Regions from separate parts of the Homo sapiens genome. Here region 2 is linked to region 1. The links are contacts of gene promoters, found by promoter capture Hi-C in blood cells and fetal thymus (Javierre and others, 2016). All regions are on one chromosome and are shown on one strand. The core of a region is centred on a gene start or on the middle of the fragment in contact, and the rest is flanking DNA. Distances in the headings are between cores, read along the strand shown.

Region 1 (5,858 bases), core at 440-2,939:
ATAACTGCATTCTCAAAGTACCTAATCTCAACAATACCCTAACTTAAAACCTGCTGACTAGGAGATGTATTTGACTGCAAATCTGGCCCACACAAGCAATAATCTGAGTTTCCATCAAGGAAGCTGTAAGCACCAAGTAGAGCAAAAACAAATCCAGGCCTCAAATGGAAAAAGCAGCTCTGAATTGTGATTTTCGAAGAAACCTGCATTTCTTACACTTCAGTGTACTTTCCCCATATTTAACTCCAAGATTTTTGTTAATTTGTTTGGTTTTCCTTTCTCAAACAAAATTATGCTCAGACTGAAAACCCTAGATTTGTTCCCTATTGCATCTTCATTTCTTCCCAAACATTCCATAAAACGTGACCTACATTAAGTTAGCAAGTTAAGTCTGAAAGCGTCTACCTTCCCTGGGGAGGGGGAAGGTGTAGGCAGGGCAGAGATTTGTAGTCCAGCCCTCTTGCCACAAATTATGAATTAGAGAGGAATGACTTTGCTTTTTTAATGATCTCCAGAGAATTTTCCATCATTTCCCTCTCTTCACCCAGCTCCTTTGCAACCACTGCCAGAGAAGTCTTCCTTTAGCTTCTTAAACATCGATCCTAAAACACTTCCAGACACCTGTGCTGCTCCTTTCAGTTCCCATGGAGATTAGGCTGTGTAACAATCTCGCAAAGACGTTCCCCTCCGTCTCCTCATCCTCTTTTCAAACCCTTTTACGATTTCCCATCTCACTCAGCATGACAGTCAAAGTCCCTGTGATGGCCAACTTCTGCATCACCTAGCCAGTCTGCCACCGCCAAAACTCTCCAGCCTCATCTTTCTACTCTTCCCCTGGTTCCTTGCCCACGCCTTTACACTTGTTCTCTGCTTGGAATCTTCCCTCCCCTCCTTGAGGAACTTTCTCAAATGTCACCTTCCCTCAATACTCCCCCTCCTCCATTTAAAACTATAAACTTCCAACTCTCTAAGCCCCTAAAGTACTCTATATTTAACTTATTGTATAAACTACTGTCCCTACTTGTAAGTTCCAAGATTGCAGGGATTCACCCGCTTTGTTCACTGCTGTCTGCCAAGGTCTAGAACAGTGCAAGTTACCCAACAGGAGTTCAATAAACAGCCATTCATTTAACAAATATTTGCTGAGCACTTCGTCCCGTCCAAGTTTGTTAAATCAAGACAAATAAGACACCGTCCCTGCCTTTAACGCACCAGATGGAGAAATGCACCACAGACATAAATGTGCAATACAGGCCTGACACTACGGCCACAAGCAAGTCAAAGAACGTGCCAAAAGTTCAGAGGAAGAAGCCTCGGCTTCGCCTTTCGGGAGACCAGTCCAGCTTTCCACCATCACGCTGCTCATCAGGGACCATCTCCGGGGGTCTCCTCTAGACCCCAAGGGAGGAGCGGGTCCCGCCCGCCATTCCCAGGTCTCAGAGTTTACTTGTCCAGAGATGCAACTTCCGGCCTCTTCAGGCCGGGCAAGATTTAAGGAAAGAAAAGAAACATAAGGACCTCCGTTCTTCGGTCTCCGTCCCCTCCCCTTCCCCCGCGTGCCGTCCCCACAACGGGCCAGGACTGAACCCAACTCTCGACCAACTCCCGGCAGCAAAACTAAGCACCCTACTTCCGTTGTCCCCACCTGTTCCCGGCGTCCCCTTCGGCTACTCCCGGCGTTTGCGCAAGCGGTCCCACGTGGGCTCGGGCGGGGCTAGCGCCGCGGCGGGGGCTGGGCACGCCCCTAGCGCATAGCTGGCTTCTGATTGGCTTTCCGGTGCTCGCCCGAGCAGGGTTGGGGCGAGTGGACCGCGCCTCTAAAGGCGCTTGCCAGTGCAATCTGGGCGATCGCTTCCTGGTCCTCGCCTCCTCCGCTGTCTCCCTGGAGTTCTTGCAAGTCGGCCAGGATGTCTCAGGTACAGCGCGTGCACAGCCAGGCTGCGAAGGTGCAGCGGGCGGGAGGCCCGTTGGGGGCTCAGCCGGCTGCCAGAAGCTCTCGGGCTCTTTCCTTCCGTGCCCCTCACTTGCTCATGGGCCCATGCCTAGCCCTGATTCGTTGGACAGAGCCTTGTGAGCGGGATTTTCCGTTTGGGGATTTCTAAATCTGCTGCCCACCCCGCAACTGCCGGAAAGTTGCCCATGGGGTGGACTTCGCTGTGTAGCGGGAGAGGGGTGGGAGTCGAGGGTGCTTGATGGAGAGATGGGGGAAGGGGTTGCACGGATTGGAGGAGCGAGGAGACTCAGTCCCCATCCCGAAGCACAGGGCAGGACGTCGCGGCGGAGTGGGGAAGCGAGGAGTCCGTGGCCGAGAGCTTGGAGGTCAGGGGAAGTACGGGGCCGGCTGCTCAGAGTGCGGGACGAGGAGAATCGCGGCCCGGGGAGAGGTGACCCAGGGGCCCCTCCCTTCTCTCCAGTGTAGACCCTTGTCTGAGACCGAGCTATGTGGGGCGACCTCTGGCTCCTCCCGCCTGCCTCTGCCAATCCGGGCACTGGGACAGAGGTCGGTGTTGAACGCGCGGGCCCCAGGGGGAGGGAGGGGACCAACGGGCTCCGGCGCTGACACCGCGGCACTCATGCCCTGTCCCCTTTCAGCTGTTTCCAGCATACTGTGCCCCGTCTGTCCTCAGGCCAGGGCTTCGCTGCAGCCCCGGCCACTCCCTAGTGCCTGGCCCGGTGGTGGCCAGGCAGTTGGCCGCGCTGCTTCTCCCGCAGAGGGGACCCCCACTGGGGGCGAAGGCTTGGCCTGCCCTCTTCACTGCTGTATTTCCAGACCTGATGCCTGCGTTTGTGAGAGCTCTGGATATATGGTTTTCGATTGAATGAGTGAACTGGAGGGGCTTCCCCTTCTTGTGTTGCTGAATCTTTCTAGCTGCCCTGTTGGGGCAGGGAGGGGCAGACACACTTCAGGGGCTGCATTGCCCGAAGGGTGCCACCTTTCCCACCTCTCCATCCCCGTAACTGGGCTGTCATCAGGCCACAGTAGGATTCTTACCCTCTCCCACCCAGAGGAGGCCCTCAATCCTCTCCTCTCCCTTCCATTTAGGCTGAGTTTGAGAAAGCTGCAGAGGAGGTTAGGCACCTTAAGACCAAGCCATCGGATGAGGAGATGCTGTTCATCTATGGCCACTACAAACAAGCAACTGTGGGCGACATAAATACAGGTATGCAGAGCGGGGGTTGGAAGGGCATCTGCTCATCAAAGCAGGCTCAGCAGCTCAGACTGGAAGTCCCTGGGAACTTCACTCTCAAACTGCCTGAGGCCCTACTCTTCAGGTGGGGTATGGTGATGGTTCCTGAGGTGGAAAAGACCATGTTCCGGATTCTCAGTGTCTCCAGTAGTAACAGAATTCAAATCCTGGTTTTAGAAGGTCTTTACTGGTTATCACCAGCAGCTACTCTCTACTAGGGAAGAAGCAAAGGCTGCAGCTTGGAAAAGACTTGCTGAAGGCTCTCAGCTCAGTAGTATCATTGTTGAGCCGTTCAGCTTCTGCCCTAGATGGGCAGGATCAAAGTTGGAGCACTTTTTGGAGCACTTGACAGCCTGGCCAAGCCTGATGTCAGGAGCAGAGAAGCACCTGGTTTCTTGGGCTAGGTCAGAGCATTTCGCTAACAAGTCTGTGCCTTCCTGATGATAACTTTTTCCCTGCCCAGAAATCTTGGTGCAGATTTTGAGGCTGTGCTTTGGACTGTCATGTTCTGTAATAACATCTTTCCTGCCTTGGGCAGGTTTCATTCTGTCCCTAAGTCCCTGAAACATGGGTGGATACTGAGGCAACAGCGCAGTGCATTCTGTGCAAGGACTCAGGGTTATCATGGCAGCACAGAAGGGAGGTCTCCCCTGCCCCTGCTGAGGAAGAAGGCGAGCATGGTCCCTATTTCCGCAGTAGCTGGGGTGGAAGATGGAGCAGGTGGGCTGGCTGCCAACCAGCTGGAAGCAGGAAATAGTACCCAGAATGACAGATCACAGGCAGTACCATATCAAACCCTGGGGTTCACATGGAGCACTTAGTTGAAGAAGGTCTTATGGCGAAGGTGAGTTTTACAGTGAGTTCGTAAACTCTGTCCTTCCAGGGAGGGGAAGGAAAGGTGAAGTGGGGGAGGCCAGAGGTGCCAAGATGCTTTTCTGACAAACAGTATTTTCACAGAGACTGGCCTGTGCCCGTACTAGAGTTACCGATTTTCACATGAGTCTAGATAGACTGGCATAGGAATCTATCACTTACTGATCAAAGAGGTGTCATCGGCTCTCTCTAGGGCTGTACTATACAGCCCTATTACACGATTATAAAACATGATAGTCCAAACACGATAGTTTAGTATAATAGCCAGTAGCCACATATGACTATATAAATTTTAACTGAGGCTGGGCGCTATGGCTCATGCCTGTAATCCCAGCACTTTGGGAGGCCGAAGCAAGCGAATCATGAGGTCAGGAGTTTGAGACCAACCTGGCTAACGTAGTGAAACCCCATCTCTACTAAAAATACAAAAATTAGCTGGGCATGGTGGCATATGCCTGTAGTCCCAGCTACTTGGGAGGCTGAGGCAGGAGAATCGCTTGAACCTGGGAGGTAGAGGTTGTGGTGAGCCGAGGTCGCACCACTGCACTCCAGCCTGGGCAACAGAACGAGACTCTGTCTCTAAAAAAAAAAATTTTAACTGAAAATAGTTAAATAAAATCAAGTTTAGTCTTCATTCACAGGAACCACATTTCAGATGCCCAGTAGTCATTTCAGGTACTTGGTGTGGCAAGTGGCTCCTGAATTGGACATTGCAAATATACATGTACATTTCCATTTCCACCGCTTGGAGAGAGCTGTCGAGGAGTGCTATTCTAGGATCCTGATGATGACCACAAGGGCAGTTTGTTTCAGCTGTCCCTGGGAACACTTCCCTGAAAGCGCTCAGGGACATTTTCTCAGGCACAGTGCTCCAGGCTACGGACTCTGATTGTTCCCTGTGGCTTTGGGGCTGGGCATCGTAGTGAAATAGGACAACAGGGAGATGGTGAGTGTGTTTCCCAACTGCAGATGACAACAGGTCTATAAGCATAAAGTCATCATATAACTTAAAGAAACCTTACCCTCGGTGAAATCTCCCACAGATCAGCAAGAAATAGACTAACAATTCGGTAGAAAAATGGGGCTAGGATATAAACAGTTCATAGGAAAGGACACCTGATATCATTAATGATTAGGGAGAGAAATTGGGTAGCTAACAGCAGGGGTGAGAGAGAAACTTTATAGTATTTTCCTCTGTAGCTTTTGAATTTTAAGACATATGAATGGATTTTTTTTTTAATTGTAATTAAAGTATAATTTTTTTAAAAGAGAAATTTTGGAGTCATTTAACTTGTAAGACAAAGGCTATCTTGTAATAAGAATACTGTTCTTCCTATTTGCTCTAGATTTTAAGTTTGGATTGGCATACATTGGTTTTCTTAGGGCAGAACCCACTCTACTAGACCTATTTAACCCCATGACAGAGCCTAGAAGGAACAGGTGTAATAGAAGATGGCATTTATGGCAAGAAGGTTGATCAAGTTCTCCATTAGAATTTGAACCAGATCTAATGCCTTTTCTTCCCTTGTTTAAGAACGGCCCGGGATGTTGGACTTCACGGGCAAGGCCAAGTGGGATGCCTGGAATGAGCTGAAAGGTAATTGTTCTAATCAATTTCTCTCATTTGTGAAACCCAGTAGTGAAAGAGTCTTCATTATGAAGTGTAAGGGAAGAGGAGAGAAAACAAAGTCAATGGGGCACGTGTGGGAAACCAGCCTGACCTGTGCCAGAATGGGAAAAAACCGGGCCACCTACTTTTTCTCCTAACACCATTTATGCCTTTTCTAAAAGCACCAT
Region 2 (6,269 bases), core at 2,861-5,360, 350 kb before region 1:
GTTTCAACAAACTTACCTGGGCGGCTCATTCTAAGTGCCAGGCCTGCAGCAGGTGCTGGGCATGTGACCTGGGCCAGCTGGACCCTCAAGGTGCTCAGCCCGGTGGGGGGACAGAACCATCAACAGACAACTAGATGATCTAATATGAGATGCAGGGACACAGAAGAGGATGGGAACCCGCCTGGGCTGGTGAAGGGCAGAGAGCCTTCCCCTGGGAGCCCCACCTGAATTGGAAAATGAGTACAAGACAACAAGGGGAGAAGCAGACACTGCAGGAGGAGGGAGCTGCATGAGCCAGGGTGGGGCTGGACATTCAGGGAACATGACCAGTGAGGAGGCCAGCCCAGCAGCGGAGCCACGACAGCATGGGGCAGGGACAGGCCAAGGGGCATGGGATGGGAGGGCCTGCAATGCACAGAACGGAGGGCAGGGTCCTAGCTGATTCCAGGTTCCCAGCTGGGGTGCTCAGGAGTGTCACCAAAACAGAGAATGCAGGAGACAGGCAGGTCAGAGAGAGATAGGCTTGGGTTTCCCTGTGGAACCTGAGAAGAGCTGTCCAACTGGCATGGGCAGCAGGGACCCTTTGGGGCTACCTGGGCCTGCTGAGGTGGCCCTCTCATGGCACCCCAAGTGTGGAAAGTTCTCAGAGACAATAAAGGCTACTCTGTGATGCTGATTGTGGCTCCTGCTGTCATTGATAAAAGAGGCTGAAATTAAAAATCAGCCTCCTCCCCAGGTGGGCTGCATTTACAGATGCTCCTAGCTCTGCACCCGGTGGCACTTTATCTCCTGGATGAGTGGACTTGACTCTTGGAGAAGCTGACAGTCCAAGGCCACATCCCCATGAGGCACGGAGACCAAGGTGTCACTGCTTATATCAGTATGCCCAGAGAGCCCTCTTCACTCCCATCCATAGAGGGTTAGCTTACAGAGCTGAGGCATATGGCAGACCAGAGGGAAAATTACCCTGTAAAGACTGCGGGCCTCTCAGGCCTTCCTGTAGCAGGAAACCACAGTGATGCACTTACTTAACAAAAGTGTATTGAGCAGCTTCTTTGGGCCAGGCACTGTGCCAGGTACTGGGGATCCAGGGATGAAAGTCCAGATCGAGGCCCCTCAGGACTTCACAGTCTAGTGGACATCAGGCAATTTCAGCAGGGCATGACACACACAGTCACAGGATGGTGACATAAATGCCTAGAGGAAGGGCATTTGAGAAGACTTGAAGAAGAAGAGGAAGCAGGGCACGCTGTGCTCCCCTATCATACTTTCTGGTGCGATCATATGAATTTTTTAATTGAGCATCTACTATCTACCAGGTTCCTGAGATGAAGCATCTCTAATCTGTGCCACCACTTAGAAGGCAATTTATAGTGGGAGAAACCACTCTCAGAAAGGATAACTGGCTTGTTCTAGCCCACACTGCTGGTGAGGAGAGGAAAAGAGGTTCAAATCCAGGGGTATCTGACTCCCAAGGCCCAAACTCTCCATCCTACAGTGCCGTGCACTCCAGCCCTCTGTAGGCTCCGCTCTACGGGAGCCGCTATAGTAAAGTAGAGAAATGGAAGAATACATAACCAAGGCTTGAGCGAAGGCCTAGAACAAAATGTAGAAAAATCAGAATGCCAGTGTGGGAGGATTATTAAACGGCATGACAGCCAGGCACGGTGGCTCACGCCTATAATCCCAGCACTTTGGGAGGCCAAGGCGGGTGGATCACCTGAGGTCAGGGGTTCCAGGCCAGTCTGGCCAACATGGTGAAACCCCATCTCTACTAAAAATACAAAAATTAGCCGGACATGGTGGCACACGCCTGTAATCCCAGCTACTTGGGAGGCTGAGGCAGCAGAATTGCTTGAACCCAGGAGGAGGAGGTTGCAGTAAGCTGAGATCACACCACTGCACTCCAGCCTGGGCAGCAGATGAGACTTAGTCTCCAAATAAATACATAAATACATAAATAAGGTCATGACTTTAGTTGAAGTCCTTCATTTAGAGACAATGGAGGCCTATGGTGGCAATAAGATTGGCCCCAGGACATAGCTGGTTGACTGCTGATCTGGATTAGAACTCAGGTCTCCTGGCTCCCAATTCAGGGCTTCATTCACTCAAGAAGCTGTGCCACTCTTGGAACACACACACACACACACACACACACACACACACACAGAGTTGCTCAAATCAGTGAATGATTCTGTCTTTGGGCAGCACAAATCTTTAATGTTTTGAGATCACAATGAAATGGAAATTACTCAGAACAAACTTCTGCTATGGGAGTGTCTTGGGCCAGATGAAGGGGGCTGGTGGTAGGGAACATCTCAGACACTTTGTAGGAGATCTTCCTGAGGGTGTCAGTGAACAAGACGCAGTGACAAAACGACTTCACAAAATAGAGAAACAATGTGGTCAGAGGGATTGATCAGAGAGACTCCCTGTCCTGGCCCCTGTTCGCTGAGCAATTCAATGACATTTGTCCTGTGTGGGCCAGTTACTCAATTGTTGTCTTAGTATGTAATTTTATTTAAAATATTTGATAAAATAGCAACATATTTAGCTGATTAAAAAGTTCAAACAGTTTTTAAATTTTTTTGTTTTGTTTTTCATTTTTTTAATTAATTTTTAATTTTATTTTAAGTTCCAGGGTACATGTGCAGGATGTACAGACATGTTACACAGGTAAACGTGTGCCATGGTGGTTTGCTGCAGCTATCAACCCATCACTTAGGTATTAAGACCAGCAGGCGTTAGCTATTTCTCCCAGTGCTCTCCCTCCCCACACCCCGCCTCCCGCCATGCCCCAGTGTGTGGTGTTCCCCTCCCAAAACAGTTCTTGAAAACATAAAATACACTACCAGCTTTAGCCTTCCTTTCTACACCGACCCCCACTCAGTTCTCCTCCCAGATGTACTTTAAACTCCACAGTCAAAAGTCAGACTCATGGTTTACACCAAAGGGGCATGCCTTTTTTTTTTTTTTTTAACATATTTTTTCTTAGGAATCTGCTCCTACATTTCTTATCTCACTTGATGAAGCAACCATTCGCACAGTGTGTCAAGCCAGAGGTGGTTATTAGTTCACATGTATTCTCCCCTCAGAATAATTTACTGTAATCCGTATACAGTATATAGGGTTTTTATTAACACAAATGGCATGATACTGAACACACTGTTCTCTGCCGAGCCGATTTTTATCCTTCCTTATGGCTACGGCATATTCCACAGTACAGACGCTGCGTAACTCACTCGCCTGGTCCTCAGTGGGTGGTGTTAGTTGTTTGCAGTCAGCGCTATCGCAAACAGTGCTGCCGGGAGACCCTGCCCAGTGCCTCTTGGTGAATCTCTGCAGAGGCAGCTGCAGCGGAATTGCTGGATTAAGTAGTATATGCACTTGAAATGCTGACATATTCCTAAATTGTCTTCCGATAAGGTTGCGCTGATTGACTCCCACCAGCAATAAGAGGGTGGCTATTTCCCCACACCTTTGGTAATAATTTTCATTTTAATATTTGCCAATCTGAGATGTGACTAACGAAGTGAAGGTTCGTTGTTGTTTTGAATTACACTTCTTTAATTATGAGTTGAGATGAGAATTTTTCCTCCAAGCTTGCATGTTTAAGAACTTCCTGTTCACATCTGCTCATCTAGGGTCTTTTTTTCAATGATTCTCTCAATGTAAATTAAGGAAATTAGTCTTTTGTCTGTCATATGCATTTCAAATACCTTTACAGTTTATCCTGAAGCTTTTTTTTCCCCTCTCTGTACTAAAGCTTTTAAATTTTCGTGTAGTCAAATTTATCAGTCTTTTCCTTTGTGGCTTCGGGGTTAAGCTGTTATTTAAATATTTTATAGCTCATTTCACTTTTCACCCAAATAAAGTGTAAGCTGCTTATAATGTTGCCTGCAGATTCTAACACAATGCCTTGTGTTTGGCAGGTATGCCTTACAGTATTTACTGATAAGATAGATAGATGATAGACTAGATAGATAGATGATAGACTAGATAGATAGATAGATAGATAGATAGATAGATAGATAGATAGATATGAATAGATAGATGGATACAGGAAATATTTTACAGTGTTAACCCTTGCTTTGCCCCATTTAAAAAACTGGTTTTAAAATACCAAATGCATTGTGTATTTTTTGAAACATCTTCTGCTCTTGATTTTCTCAACCTTTCTGGAGTCTCAAGCTGCTTGTCTCCCAGCCTCTCCCTGAGCCTTCCTCCCTGGCTCCTTTCTCACAGCTTGCCCCCTAAAAGTTGACACTGCCCTCGTCTTTCTTCTCTGTCTACATGTTCCCTAGCAGGGATGACACCAAGGGGTGGCTGGGGGTGGTTACCACCCAACTTCATCTGCTTCCTCCCAAAGAGCACCCCCAAAGCAGACAAGGAAGAAAGAGAGGGGAGAAGAGGAGAAAAAAAAGCAGCAAAGTGTGTGTTTTCTCATTCTTAAGTAAAGCTTGAATGAACACATATTTCAAAGACTTTGCTATTTCTATTAGGGTCATCTGAGCAAGAGCAGGGTGCTATATGTGTACATGCAGCCTTGAGCCAAGTGCCCCTCCAGCATTACTACTGCTGCTCTGTCCCTCCTGGGTGTCACCTTGCTGCCTGAGCCACCTTGCCCACTGCCACAGCACTGCCACAGCTCTGCCACCCTCCAGATGCCCCATAAATGCCTTCAACCCACACAATGGGATATATTGTGAAAAGTAAGACTCACCCTGACTGAAACCCCTTGTTCTCATTCCTCGTCTCTGTTAACAGTTTCTTGTGTATCATTCCAAATATATTCTATACATATAAAAGCATGTGTGCTTATCTTTCCACAAGTGTCACCTTAGTACTCATCCTGCTCTGCATGGCACTTTTCACTTAGCAAAGTATCTGGGAGATGGATCCCTGTGACCACAACCTCAATATCACGTTCACATCCTCAGCAGCCTGGTATTCCACTGAATGGCTGTATTGGAACCAATTTAACTAGCTGGCTATTAAAGAGTAGTTAGGCTTCTCAAGTTCTTTGAGGCTACAAATAATGCTTCCATTAATATCTTTGTGTATCACTATCCCTAGAATATTGACTCCATAAGGCAGTGTGGCAGGCAGAATAATTGATCTCCAAAGATGTCCATATCCTAGTCCCCAGACCTGTGAATGTGTTACCCTACGTGGCAAAGGGGAGTTTGGAAATGTGATTCAATTAAAGATTTTGAGGAGGGAAGATGATCTGGGGTTATCTGGGTGGGCCCAATAGCAAATCCCAGGGTCCGAGGAAGAGGAATGCAGGAGGGTCAAAGTCAGAGCAAGAGTGAGGGGGCCATGAACCCAGGAGCGCTGGCAGCCTCTAAAGCTGGAAACAGAAGGAAACATTCTTCCCAAGAGCCTCCAGAAGGAACGCAGCCCTGCTGACACCTCCACAGTAGACCGCTGACCTCTAGAACTGTAAATAATACATCTGTGTTAAGTTACTCTGTTTGTAGCAATTTGTTACCGCTGCAACGAGGAACTAATACAAAGGTGGTTTTGCTGCCTGCACATTGCATTCCCAATGTCACGACCAGTGCCTGGCATGTAGTAGGAGCTTACTACAGATTTGTTGAGTGACTAGAGGTGCATGTGTATTACAAGTGTAAAATAACTCCTGCCAGTGGCACTGCCCTCTGAAAGGGGAGACACATTTAAATATTGGTAAATATTTTAAAAATATTGGTAAATATTGCCGGATTCTCATCCAAAGAGGCTGCGCTGATTTACATTCCCATTAGCAGTACATGACTGCACCTTCCTCCCCATGCCCTGGCCTGCACTGTATATCATCATCATTATTTTGCCAATATAATTCTGAAAAATGGCATCTCATTGTGTTGATGTGCGTTTTTTAATGACGAGTGAGTCTGAGCTTCTTTTCATGTGCTTAGTGATCATTTGTACTTCCCCATTTGTAAACTGCCTAAACGCGTTCATTCCCTCTTTTTAAAAAATGGAGTTATTGTTCTTTTTCACTAATTTGTAAGAATCCTTCATGTTGCATGGATATGAATATGTAAATATATTCCCTTGGTTTGTCCTTTTGCTTCGTTCATGGTATTTTTTCACCATGGAGAAAATTTTAATTTGACAAAGGCATGAATGAGGTGCGCATCCTAGTTTGGCAGAGAGGAGAGGGGAGATCATTCAGTCGCACCTGACAGGAGCAAAGACTCTGAGATAAGAAAGAACAAGGAAGATTAATATGACTGGAGCAGTTAGGGGAGAGAAGGATTGAT

What was found. Contacts are between HindIII fragments. The CHiCAGO score rates a contact against its expected background, and 5 or more counts as called.
Region 2: a fragment that was not itself captured here is called in contact with the fragment with the promoter of C2orf76 in region 1 in 1 of 17 cell types (M2 macrophages); the score reaches 5.0 in M2 macrophages.

Annotation. Positions count from the first base shown.
Region 1 is chr2:119,365,145-119,371,002 of GRCh38, forward strand. It overlaps C2orf76 (chromosome 2 open reading frame 76), which reads right to left and starts at 1,690. Exons shown (of 6, transcript NM_001322331.2): 1 at 1,646-1,690. It overlaps DBI (diazepam binding inhibitor, acyl-CoA binding protein), which reads left to right and starts at 1,833. Exons shown (of 4, transcript NM_001079862.4): 1 at 1,833-1,916; 2 at 3,044-3,161; 3 at 5,596-5,658. The coding sequence starts at 1,908. RefSeq lists enhancers at 1,264-1,523, 1,894-2,223, 2,754-2,953 and a silencer at 1,644-1,793. The HindIII fragment of the contact is 12,909 bases long and covers 1-5,858 here.
Region 2 is chr2:119,012,762-119,019,030 of GRCh38, forward strand. No RefSeq gene overlaps it. Among named protein-coding and RNA genes, the nearest start is that of MARCO, 74 kb to the left of the region's middle. The HindIII fragment of the contact is 693 bases long and covers 3,765-4,457 here.